Linked DNA regions of Homo sapiens: region 1 is linked to region 2. The links are contacts of gene promoters, found by promoter capture Hi-C in blood cells and fetal thymus (Javierre and others, 2016). All regions are on one chromosome and are shown on one strand. Each heading gives the region's core, a stretch centred on a gene start or on the middle of the fragment in contact. The rest is flanking DNA. Distances are from core to core; before and after follow the strand shown. Region 1 holds the start of ZNF324B (zinc finger protein 324B). Region 2 holds the start of ZNF543 (zinc finger protein 543).

What was found. Contacts are between HindIII fragments. The CHiCAGO score rates a contact against its expected background, and 5 or more counts as called.
Region 1: a contact is called between the fragment with the promoter of ZNF324B here and the fragment with the promoter of ZNF543 in region 2, in 1 of 17 cell types (neutrophils). The highest score is 5.9, in neutrophils.

The regions. Positions count from the first base shown.
Region 1 is chr19:58,448,701-58,454,239 of GRCh38, forward strand. ZNF324B (zinc finger protein 324B) reads left to right here and starts at 2,922. Exons shown (of 4, transcript NM_207395.3): 1 at 2,922-3,004; 2 at 4,996-5,122; 3 at 5,528-5,539. The coding sequence starts at 5,002. RefSeq lists silencers at 2,628-2,954, 2,932-3,361. The HindIII fragment of the contact is 9,897 bases long and covers 1-5,539 here.
Region 2 is chr19:57,318,303-57,323,818 of GRCh38, forward strand. It overlaps ZNF543 (zinc finger protein 543), which reads left to right and starts at 2,170. Exons shown (of 4, transcript NM_213598.4): 1 at 2,170-2,569; 2 at 5,380-5,506. The coding sequence starts at 2,552. RefSeq lists enhancers at 546-1,063, 1,989-2,108, 2,119-2,268. The HindIII fragment of the contact is 3,609 bases long and covers 1-3,157 here.

The DNA of each region.
Region 1 (5,539 bases), core at 1,672-4,171, 1.1 Mb after region 2:
TGGGTGACAGAGCAAGACTCCATCTCAAAAAAAATAAAAATAAAAATAAAGTATCTGGTGGAAGAAATTTCTAAGCAGCAAAGCATTCAAGAGGTGACTTTGATATTATTAAAAGCATTCAGTTTTAAAAGGGAAATACAGCATAAAAGTTCAGAAAATTTGCAGCCTGACCATGCAACAGAAAAGAAAAACACATTTTCTGTGGAGAAATTCAAGAAATTTGCATAAGTAACCAGGAGTCAAATGTTAATCGCCCGGACAATGGGGAAAATATCTCCAGGACATGTCAGAGACCTTTGTGGCAGCCCTTCCCATCACAGGCCCAGAGGCCTAGGAGGAAAAAATGGTTTCGTGGGCTCCCCCTGCTGTGTGCAGCCTACAGACTTGGTGCCCTGCATCCCAGCTGCTTGAACTATGGCTAAAAGGAGCCAAGGTACAGCTTAGGCTGTGGCTTCAGAGGGTGCAAGCCTCAAGCCTTGGCAGCTCCCATGTGGTGTTGAGCCTGTGGGTGCACAGAACTCAAGAACTGAGGTTTGGGAACCTCCACCTAGATTTCAGAAGATGTATGGAAATGCCCAGATTTGGAGCAGGCAAAAGTTTGCTGCAGGGGCAGGGCCCTCATGGAGAACCTCTGGTAGGGCAGTGCTGAAGGGAAATGTGGGGTTGAAGACCCCACACTGAGTCCCCACTGGGGTACTGCCTAGTGGAGCTGTGAGAAGGGGGCCACCATCCTCCAGACTCCAGAATGGTAGATACAACCAACAGCTTGGACCACGCACCCGGAAAAGTCACAGACACTCAACACCAGCCCATGAAAGCAGCTGGGAGGGAGGCTGTACCCTGCAAAGCCACAGAGCTGCAGCTGCCCAAGACCATGGGAACCCACTGCTTGTATCAGTGTGACCTGGATGTGAGACATGGAGTCAGAGGAGATTATTTTGGAACTTTAAGATTCGACTGTCCTGCTGCATTTCAGACTTTCGTGGGGCCTTTAGCCCCTTTCTTTTGGCCAATTTCTCCCATTTGGAATGGGTGTATTTATCCAACGGCTGTACCCCAATTGTATCTAGGAAGTGACTAACTTGCTTTTGATTTTACAGGCTCATAGGAAGAAGGGAATTGCCTTGTCTCAGATGAGATTTTGGACTGTGGACTTTTGAGCTAATGCTGAAATAAGTAGACTTTGGGGGACTGTTGGGAAGGCACGATTGGTTCTGAAATGTGAGCACGAGATTTGGGAGGGGCGAGGAACAGAATGATATGGTTTGGCTGTGTCCCCAACCAAATCTCATTTTGAATTGTAGCTTTCATAATTCCCACATGTTGTGGAAGGGGCCCCAGTTAGAGGTAACTGAGTCATGGGGACAGTTTCCCCCATACTATTCTTGTGGTAGTGAGTAAGTCTCACGAGATCTGATGGTTTCATAAGGGGTTTCCTCTTTTGCTTGACTCTCATTTGCTCTTGCCTGCTGCCATGTAAGACGTGCCTTTCACCTTCTGTCATGATTGTGAGGCCTCTCCAGCCACGTGGAACTATGAGTCCACTAAACCTCTTTTTCTTTATAAATTACCCAGTCTCAGATATGTCTTTATCAGCAACGTGAAAACAGACTAATACACCAGGCATCGTGGCTCCTGCCTGTAGTTCCAGCTACTTGGGAGGCTGAAGTTGGAGGACTGTTTGAGCATGGGAGGCGGAGGTTGCAGTGACCCGAGTATGCACCACTGCACTCCATCCTGGGTAAGAGAGTGAGACCCTGTCTCAAAAAAAAAAAAAAAAAAGTAAAAAAAAATTGCTTGAAATGTTAATAATGCCTCTAAGCATTTGATTAAATCACAATAGTACTTAAGTGTTCTTAAATTCTTTCAAAGCAGGAAAAATTTAAATAAAAACATTCAAAAATTGTCGAGCTATCTTACACTATAGGGATCTACAAGTAGAATCAATTCTGTGGACAGTTATAGCTGACAGTAGACAGATATTTATAGATGGAGGTGGGTATAGAGGAAGACAAAATGAATTAACGTACTTGACATCTGAGAACTGTCTAAGGATCCTAAAAACAAGACCCTCACAGGGAAGCAACAAAGAGAGAATCGTTTATTCTCTGCCAACAACATGGTCAGTCTACATTGAGACTGCCCTGCCTTTTGTTGTTATGTGTCAAAGACACTTAGATTGGTCCAGAGAAAAAAGGAACAAAGCATCCATGTTGTGATGTGTGGGGCAAAGCAAGAACTAGATGGTCTAAGGACAAGCAAGGCTGGGGAATTACCTTCTGCTCGTCCAAGTTACAAGGAAAACAAGTTTTGGGCGAGCGTCCAAGAACAATCACAGAATCAAGACAAATGACAAGCGGGTAGTGTCATTACAGGCTGAGAATTCTTGGTGTAGAGGTTGAAAAACGGACCTTAAACCTTTACGGGACACTGACACACAGAGAGATCAAACCCTCGCCCAGGATGCACAGTCAGTGAGATGCAAAGCTGGGAAGGGAACCCGGAGCTCCAGGCATCTGCTCCTCCACCTACACCTGCCCTACCCGGTGCGTTTTCTCCTCCCTGCTACCTGCTGGTGTTGCCTTCTGGAACCTCCGCAGTTTCTGCTTTCACACCTGCAGGGTTTAGTCTCCAGGGCTGCTTAGGTGGGTGCCAGGAACTGGGAATCCCCAACGCGGGACAACCTGCCGGGCGACTCAACCAGTGCCACGGAGCCCTTGGAAACCCGCGGCAGCTGCGCTACTCCATTTCCAGGCGCCCAGCGCGGCGGCGCTTAGCCGTTGCCATGGAGACTGGTAATGGCCCCGCCTCCGCGCCGAAAAACAGGCAGGAACCACATAACCCAGAAGGCTGTGCGCAAGCGTCTGCGCGCGTATTGGGGCAATGTGAGCTCTGGGGGCTGGACTTCCGGCGTTGGGACTGTCACTTGGCTGCTCGCGTCAGGCCACACCGGTGGTCTGGGCTGTGGCGCGCGGGTCGGGGCCCGAGGCGGGCGGCCAGGAAGGTACGGACCACGAGCAGCCGGCCGCGCCCCCAAGCCTCGGTATCTTCGAGTATGACGTGGTCGGCCCGGGGGCGGTCGGGCCCCGGCGGGAACCACGCGTTCTCCCGCCCCGCGGAAGCCCAGGAGGCAGCGCATTGGGCATTCTGCGCCCATGACTGCCGGGCAGGCTGAGGCGCGGGGCAGCCGCGGGAGGCTGCTGGCGGGGATGGCGGTCCCGGGTGGTCCATGCCTTTCTTCCCTCCCAGTTGCGGGTTCCGCTGGCGGCGGTGGCGCTGACAAGCCCGCGCCGGGGGGGCGGGGGAGTCCCTGCTCACACAGACTGCGCCCCCACGGAGTGAGGCCGCTTCCTAGACCTCGCCTAGTCGTCTTTCCTCTCCCTGCCCTGGGGGGGTTGCGGGGGTCAGTGCAAACTCCTGCGTCCAGGGCACTGGTGAGCTCCCGACTTCCGGCAGCCAGGGGGCTGAGGTCCCGAAGGAGGCTCCGAGGGGAGAGTCCTGCGTGTGCAAAACCTGGGAGGGGAGCCGAAGCCCAGATGCTTCTGGGACTGAGCGCTCTCGATGTGGAGCTGGAGTAGAGGGGATGTGTGCGGCTGCAGTAGCAGGCGAGGGAGTGGGCTTTATCTCGAGGGCGTCGGGAGACATAGAAGTTTTGAACAGAATCAGGACATCCTCTGAGTTGGGACTTTAAAACGGTTCCACCGTTTGTTGCGTGGAGAACAGACATGCAGGGGTGTCGGCATGAAGGGAAGAACCGACTGCCACAGTCTGGGCAGCAGTGGAGGTGGGCGACCAGGTGAATTCTGGTGGATCTGCGGATGCATCAGGTGTGGGCTGTTTGAAGAACTAAGTACCCCATGTTGTTCAGCCTGAGCGCCTGGAAGAAGAGAGCTGCTGTAGATAGAAAGGAGAATTGAAAGGAAAGCAGGTTTCCTTCAGGGGAAAGATCAAGAGTCTGGGATGTCCCAGGTTGGTCATGTCACTGGACCTGACGTTGTTGGTGTCCTGGGCTGAGGACAGGGCCTATAAACTGGACTGAAGAAGGCGATGAGCAGTCAGGCGTGCGGAGTTACAGCTTGAGGGTAAAGAAAACCGGCTGGGGTGCCTGAGGCTATCAGGGGAGGAGTTCGGCAGGTGGCTGAATAGGAGAGGGTGGCAGCAATGTGGGAAAGAAATTGCGGGAGCGCTGAGATCGAGACCATCCTGGCTCACACAGTGAAACCCGGTCTCTACTAAAAATCCAAAAAAATTAGCCAGGTGTGGTGGCGGGAGGCTGAGGCAGGAGAATGGCGTGAACCCGGGAGCCGGAGCTTGCAGTGAGCCGAGATTGCCCCACTGCACTCCAGCCTGGGTGACGGAGTGAGACTCCGTCTCCAAAATAAAAATAAATAAATAAATAAATAAATAAATAAATAAATAAATAAATAAATTGAGGAGGGGGCGCCATGTGGAGGGAGGAAGGGATTGAGTTCCCCTGTGTTCACAGGTTCTTGGGGCTGCACCCCTATGACGACTGGTGGGGATCATCCAGTCCCTCAGGCTGGATGAGCAGCCTGGAAATGTCAGGCAAGCGCAGCAGGGGAAGGTCTCAGTGATGGGCATGCCTGGGGGGTCCACAGCTGGGACTTACACCCTTGCTTATTACAAAAGCAAGAAGGGCACATCTGGGGAGGGTCATGAATGGTCATGCTGAGTCACGAGTGGATATTTGGGGCTGCCCTTGGTGTGGCAGCTAAGGGCCCAGCCAGGGCTTGCTCTAGCCTGCTTGTGTAGGGGTGGCCAGTGGGGAAGTCAAGAAGCCATCTGGGGCCTGGACCAGGAGGGCAGAGGGGAGGGGTCCCAGACAGGTGAGGGAAGTGCCACCTGAAGATAATCTCGGGGTGGAACCCAAGGAAGGAGGGACACTGGGGGAGGTGACTGTTGGGATGGGGAGCTTGGTCCTGGCTCACAGCCATACCTTAGACCATGCCTACCTCCACCTCCCTGCTGTTTTAGGACCTGATGACCTTCGAGGATGTGGCCGTGTACTTCTCCCAGGAGGAGTGGGGGCTCCTGGACACAGCGCAGAGGGCCCTGTACCGCCACGTGATGCTGGAAAACTTCACACTTGTGACCTCACTTGGTAAGGCCCTGGGTGCTCCATGAAAAGTGCACTTGGTGACAATCAGGACTGCCTCTTCACTTCCCTCCTGGTTGATGAGCAGGATCAAATCTGGCCAGGGCCACGTGGAACAAGGGTCTGGTCCTGTAGACACAAAGTTTGGTTGGGTCAGCCACTCCTTGCCGCCCTGTCCAGCTGTGGCCTCTCTCATGCCTGGGCTCAGTCCCGTTGCTTTGGTGCTCTGGGCACAGTTGCTGCTCTGGGGACACATGAGCTATTCCTATGAGCCCCTTGCCCTGTGCTATCTTTAGATTCTCCCAGTTGCACAGATTACTGTCTATTTCCATGAAGCCCTGACTCCTGCTCTCTGTTGGGAGGTGGGTTGTCTTGACCTGGGGCTGGGCTCTCACCTGCTCCTCCTCACAGGACTCTCTACCT
Region 2 (5,516 bases), core at 920-3,419:
ATGGTAATATTATATTTAAACTCTTGGATTGCATTATTGGTTTCCTTGGATTTTTCCTTCCTTGCCATCCAGACTCTGAATTCTAAGTCATTTCAGCCATTTAAGCATGGTTCCAAACCATCACTAGGGAGCTAGTGCAGTCGTTTGGAGACCTTTAGAGTTGCCAGAAATCTTGCACTGGTTCTTTCTCATATGTGTGGGCTGATGTTCCTTGAATCTTTGAAGTTGCTCTCCTTTGGATGGGGCTTTCTGCTTTTATATTATTTGATGCCCTTGGGAGTTTTACTGTGGTATAAGTTGGGTTTAGTTTCATGGTTTCAATTATGGGTGCTTTCACAGGCCAAGGCTCAGCTGAGCACTCCTGAGCTGCATGCTGTAAACCTGGGTAGAGGGGATTAAGCCCTTGGCTTTGTTCTCTGGCTGCTTGGGGTGAAGCACCTGCTGTGCTAGAGGGGCTGAGGTGTTCTCAGTCTGCTGGCAAAAGTGCTCCAGCAGAGCATTGTGGGGACTGCAGAGAGTGCACTGTGGCTGGGGGATGGGGAGGCCACAGGCAAGTGTGCACCACTTGGGCAGTAGAGGGGGGCTACCTGCAAGTGTGTGCCAATGGGGTGGCATGGCTGTGGTGTAGGTGAGTGAAGCACCATGGTGTGAGGGGTCCCCGGCAATGCCTCCCACCTTTTTGAATCTCCAGTGTCTATTATTCCACTATTTCCATATGTATACATCATTTAGCTACCACTTATAAGTGATAACATGCAGTATTTGACTTTGTTTCTGAATTATTTCACTTAAGAGAATGGCCCCCCAGTTCCAGCCATATTGCTGCAAAAGCCATGATTTTTTTTAATGACTGAGTAGTATTCCATGGAGTGTATATATATATACACATATATACATATACATACATATATATACATATATATACATATACATACATATATACATATATACATATACATACATATATATACATATATATACATATACATACATATATATACATATATATACATATACATACATATATATACATATACATACATATATATACATATATATACATATACATACATATATACACATATATATACATATACATACATATATACATATATATACATATACATACATATATACATATATATACATATACATACATATATACATATACATACATATATATACATATATACATATACATACATATATATACATATATATATCGCATTTTCTTTATCCAATCATCTGTCGATGGACACTTAGGTTGATTCTATGACTTTGCTACTGTGAATAGTGCTACAGTAAGCATGTAAGTACAGGCATCTTTTTGATATAGTGGTTTATTTTCCTTTAAGTAAATACCCAATAGTGGAATTGCCAGATCAAATGGCAGTTCTATTTTCAGTTCTTTGATAAATCTCCATACTGTTTTCCATAGAGGTTGTACTAATTTACATTCCCACCAATAGCATATAAGCGTTCCCTTTTCCTTGCATCCATACCAACATCTGTTGGTTTTTTACTTTTTAATAATAGCCACTCTGACCAGTATAAGATGGCATCTCAGTGTGTTTATGTGTGTGTGTTTTCTCTCATCATATCTCATTATAACCTCAAATTCCTGGGCTCAAGCAATCCTCTTGCTTCAGCCTCCCAGTGTCTAGGACTACAGGTGTACACCATCATGCCTTGCTCTTTTTTTTTTTTTTGGTAGATATAACATCTTACTATATTGCCCAGGGTGGTCTCAAACTCCTGACCTCAGCAATTATTTTGTGTTGGCATCCCAAAGCACTGAGATTACATATATGAGCTACCTCCCTAAAATAAGGGAAGTGAGCCAGAAGCTCTGGGCCCAGCCCATGATCTCAATCGGGGCGAATATCCCCGCCTCCTGACCTCAATTTTCCTAAGCTAGAAAGGACCTTTCGACCCTCCGACTTGTGCCCATAGTAAAGCGGCGGCCCTAAGACGACGCGGGGGTCCTTGTGCGCACTTAAATGGAGTCGGCTGCGCTTGGTGAGTTCCCACACCCGGTAGATGTGAGGGAAAAACTGCCTTACTCAGAAGGCACCACCCCTTGCGTCGGCCGCGGACTCTAGGCCAATGACGGGCCAGGACACGGGCGATTTCTGCGGGCCAGGGCGGCGGAGGTGGGACTTCCGCTTCGTCGCGTGACGTCATCTCCGTGAGCAGGATTGGCCCTGGAACAGTGTGGGGCCTGGACCGCTGGGTAGGCGCGTCCAGCGGCCTGAGCAGGGGAGGGTAATGAGGCTGTTACGCGCCTTCTCCGCATCTTGGCGGGAGCCTGACGCCCCGCTTCTTCCCTAACGGGGTGTTCCACCGGCGCCTGCCGAGGCCTAGGCCTCCGCAGCCGCCCTCCGTCTCCTCAGCCCCGACGCTGCGCCCGCTTTGTGCGCATTTTTCTCTGGGGAAACTGAGGCTCCGAGTGCGAAAGTCAGCCGAGGTCGCCCCGCCCAGGACAGAGAAGGGCTGGGGGTCGGCTGAGCCGCGGCATTCCCGGGCCCCGCTAGGGCTGCAGGGTCTCAGGATGGCAGCCTCGGCGCAGGTGAGTGGACGAGGTTTTGGCCTTGCTGCTGCTCTGCTACTTCTGGAGGCCTCGTGGGCAGGCAGAAGCCAAGACAGCCACAGGATGTTTCTTTGTCGCCGTCGTTTATTTAAGAGAAGTGGCCGTAGCTTGTCATTTCCTTTATCCGCAGTCCTGCAATAGTGTTGGCCTCCGACAGGTGCTCAGTCCTTGGTAGAAGGATGAATGATGCTTCCTTCATGGATCTCATCACACTTCCCTTAAATCCAACCTCCTCTGTTGCCTGCCAGCCCCTACCCCATCCACCTGGCCAACCACCCCTGACCTTGTCTCTCCATTTTTCCCTTGTCCTTTGCTCTTCAGAGCCACCAACCTGACCGTGCAGTCTTCTTCCTTTTTCCAGGCTTTCTCTTTGCACTTCCCTTTGCCTTGAACACTGCCCCTATAACTTCGCAGGGCCTCCCTCTCATATCTTTCTGGCCTCTGTCCAGATGTCACCTATTTGGAGGTGGCTTTCTTGGCAATTCCGGCTAAAGTGGCGCCTTACGCACTTGCCCATTTTTGGCAATGTGTGGCATTTTTGTATAGAGAATCTGACGATATTAAAGAAGCTTGCCGTTTGAGTTGGTCTAGGATGTTATGTGAACAAAGAGAAACGAAATAATTGCAAAGAGTGACAGCTGATCATAAAGAGTCCTTGCTGTGGGCTGATTGGCAGGCATTATTTAACCCTCAGCTCCTTTAATCCTGAACTCCTTAGAATTAGGTTCTCTTGTCCTCACTGTTTTACACAAGAGCAGCTGGAGGCTCACATAGGTTCAATTACCTGCCTTACATCACTGTAGCTCTTAAGTATCAGAAACTAACAACTGGTGTGTCTACCATCACAGCCTGTGTTTTTACCCTCTTCTTTGCCCGCAATGGTTAGGGAGGCCTGGGGGTGACACCTAAAGTAAACTTTGCAAGTTGAGCAGGCTTCCTTCTAGCAGGTGGTCTTGGACATGAGGAGTCATGGCATTTCATGCTGGTGGAACTGTGTGGACTAAAAAAAAATGGTTTATTGGTTGTTTAAGGAGTCCGCAGGGGACCCGTGTGGCTTCCACAGTGGTTTCCTGAGTGGTTTTCTCCTATACCAGCTGACACATGTCTTGGGACACAAGATTTTGTGGTCTTTTGCTAGATGTGCCTTCCTCCTTAGCCAGGACAGACATAGCCAGTCAGGGGCCCATGTTCTCATGGCTACAACCTGCTGTGTCCTCTGTGACTCTTGTTCCTTGCTCCTGAAGTATCCTGACCTCAGGGATACTTGTTGGTAGGACTCAAACAGGAAAAGGTAGTGATAGCTCGTTGTGGATTCTTCCTATGAGAATGGGCATCTGTGAGGCCCAGAAGTGTCCGAGGCAGCAGATGCAGGTCCAGGCCCTGCCACTTTTGAGGCAGGTGCCACCACCTCAGGTGACTCTTCTGTGAGGTAGGTGATTATGACTATGCTGCTCTGCCCAGGTCCATGAAAATATTTCAAGTGGCTAACCCCAGCACAGTGGCATGTGTCTGTATATCCAGCTTGGGAGGCTAAGGCAGGAGGATCATGAGTTCAAGCCCAACCTGGGCAAAATATTGAGACCCTGTCTCAAAAAAAAAAAAAAAAATCCTGAAAATATTTTCAGGGTGGCTCAAATGGATGTATTTCAATGTTTCCCATCCTCATTAACTGTGCATTAACTTTGCTAATGAAGGAGTGTCGGGTTGCATGATTAGAACATAGACCATAGGGCCCTGGGTTCAAATTCTGTCTCTCCTGATAAGAGATGTGACTTTGGGTAGACTAGTGGAGGTCCTGGACCTCAAGTCTCTGAGTGTGACATGGAGATGATGATGGTGAACTCAGGAGCTGTGGCCCTTTGCCCCAGTGTTTCCTTTACAGCTTTTCTTCAGATCTTTTGACTATTCTTGGTGAAGTGGAAAACCCTGTTGTGTTGACCTGGACATCAGGGCTCAGATAAATGAAATGAGATTTCCAAGGTCACATAGCAGGCTTGTGTTGATTTCAGGAATTTGGTTTTAAACCTCAGGAGTCTGACTCCTGAGCTGGGGACTTTTAGTCACTTTACCATGGCATGTAAAGCCATTAGCATGAGGCAGGCTCACAGGGAGGATCGGTAAGACTCAGGTGCTGTTCTTGTTGTTGTTGCTGGTGTTGTTTTTGTTATTATTCTTTCCCATTCCTCTGATGTCTCAGAGCACTTACTGTCTTGCCTCTCAGTCCCCTTAGGATTGTCCTAACCTTATTTCTGTGTGAAGTGGCTTTCTGCATAGGAGGCTTCTCTCTCTTCACTGCTGTAATTTTTTTTTTTTTTTTTGAGACGAGTCTCGCTCTGTCACCCAGGCTGGAGTACAGTGGCACGATCTCGGCTCACTGCAAGCTCCGCCTCCCGGGTTCACGCCATTCTCCTGCCTCAGCCTCCCGAGTAGCTGGGAATACAGGCGCCCGCCACCGCGCCCGGCTAATTTTTTTGTATTTTTAGCAGAGACGGGGTTTCACCATGTTAGCCAGGATGGTCTCGATCTCCTGACCTCGTGATCTGCCCTTCATGGCCCCCCAAAGTGCTGGGATTACAGGCGTGAGCCACCGCGCCTGACCGACACTGCTGTAATTTATCCAAGGCAATGTCCACATTCCCCTCATGCCTGGCACAGATCATGGCCCTCTAGAGATGCTTGGTGATTTGATTCTTGGGTCACTGCGCATCTTTTGCAGTGCTGAAGTGACAAGTTCTAGTTGTATTCCACAGTTCCAAGGGAAACACTACTATCTCTGTTTAATTTTCCAGGTGTCTGTGACCTTTGAGGATGTGGCTGTGACATTCACCCAGGAGGAGTGGGGACAGTTGGATGCAGCCCAGAGAACCTTGTATCAGGAGGTGATGCTGGAGACCTGCGGACTTCTCATGTCTCTGGGTAAGGCCCC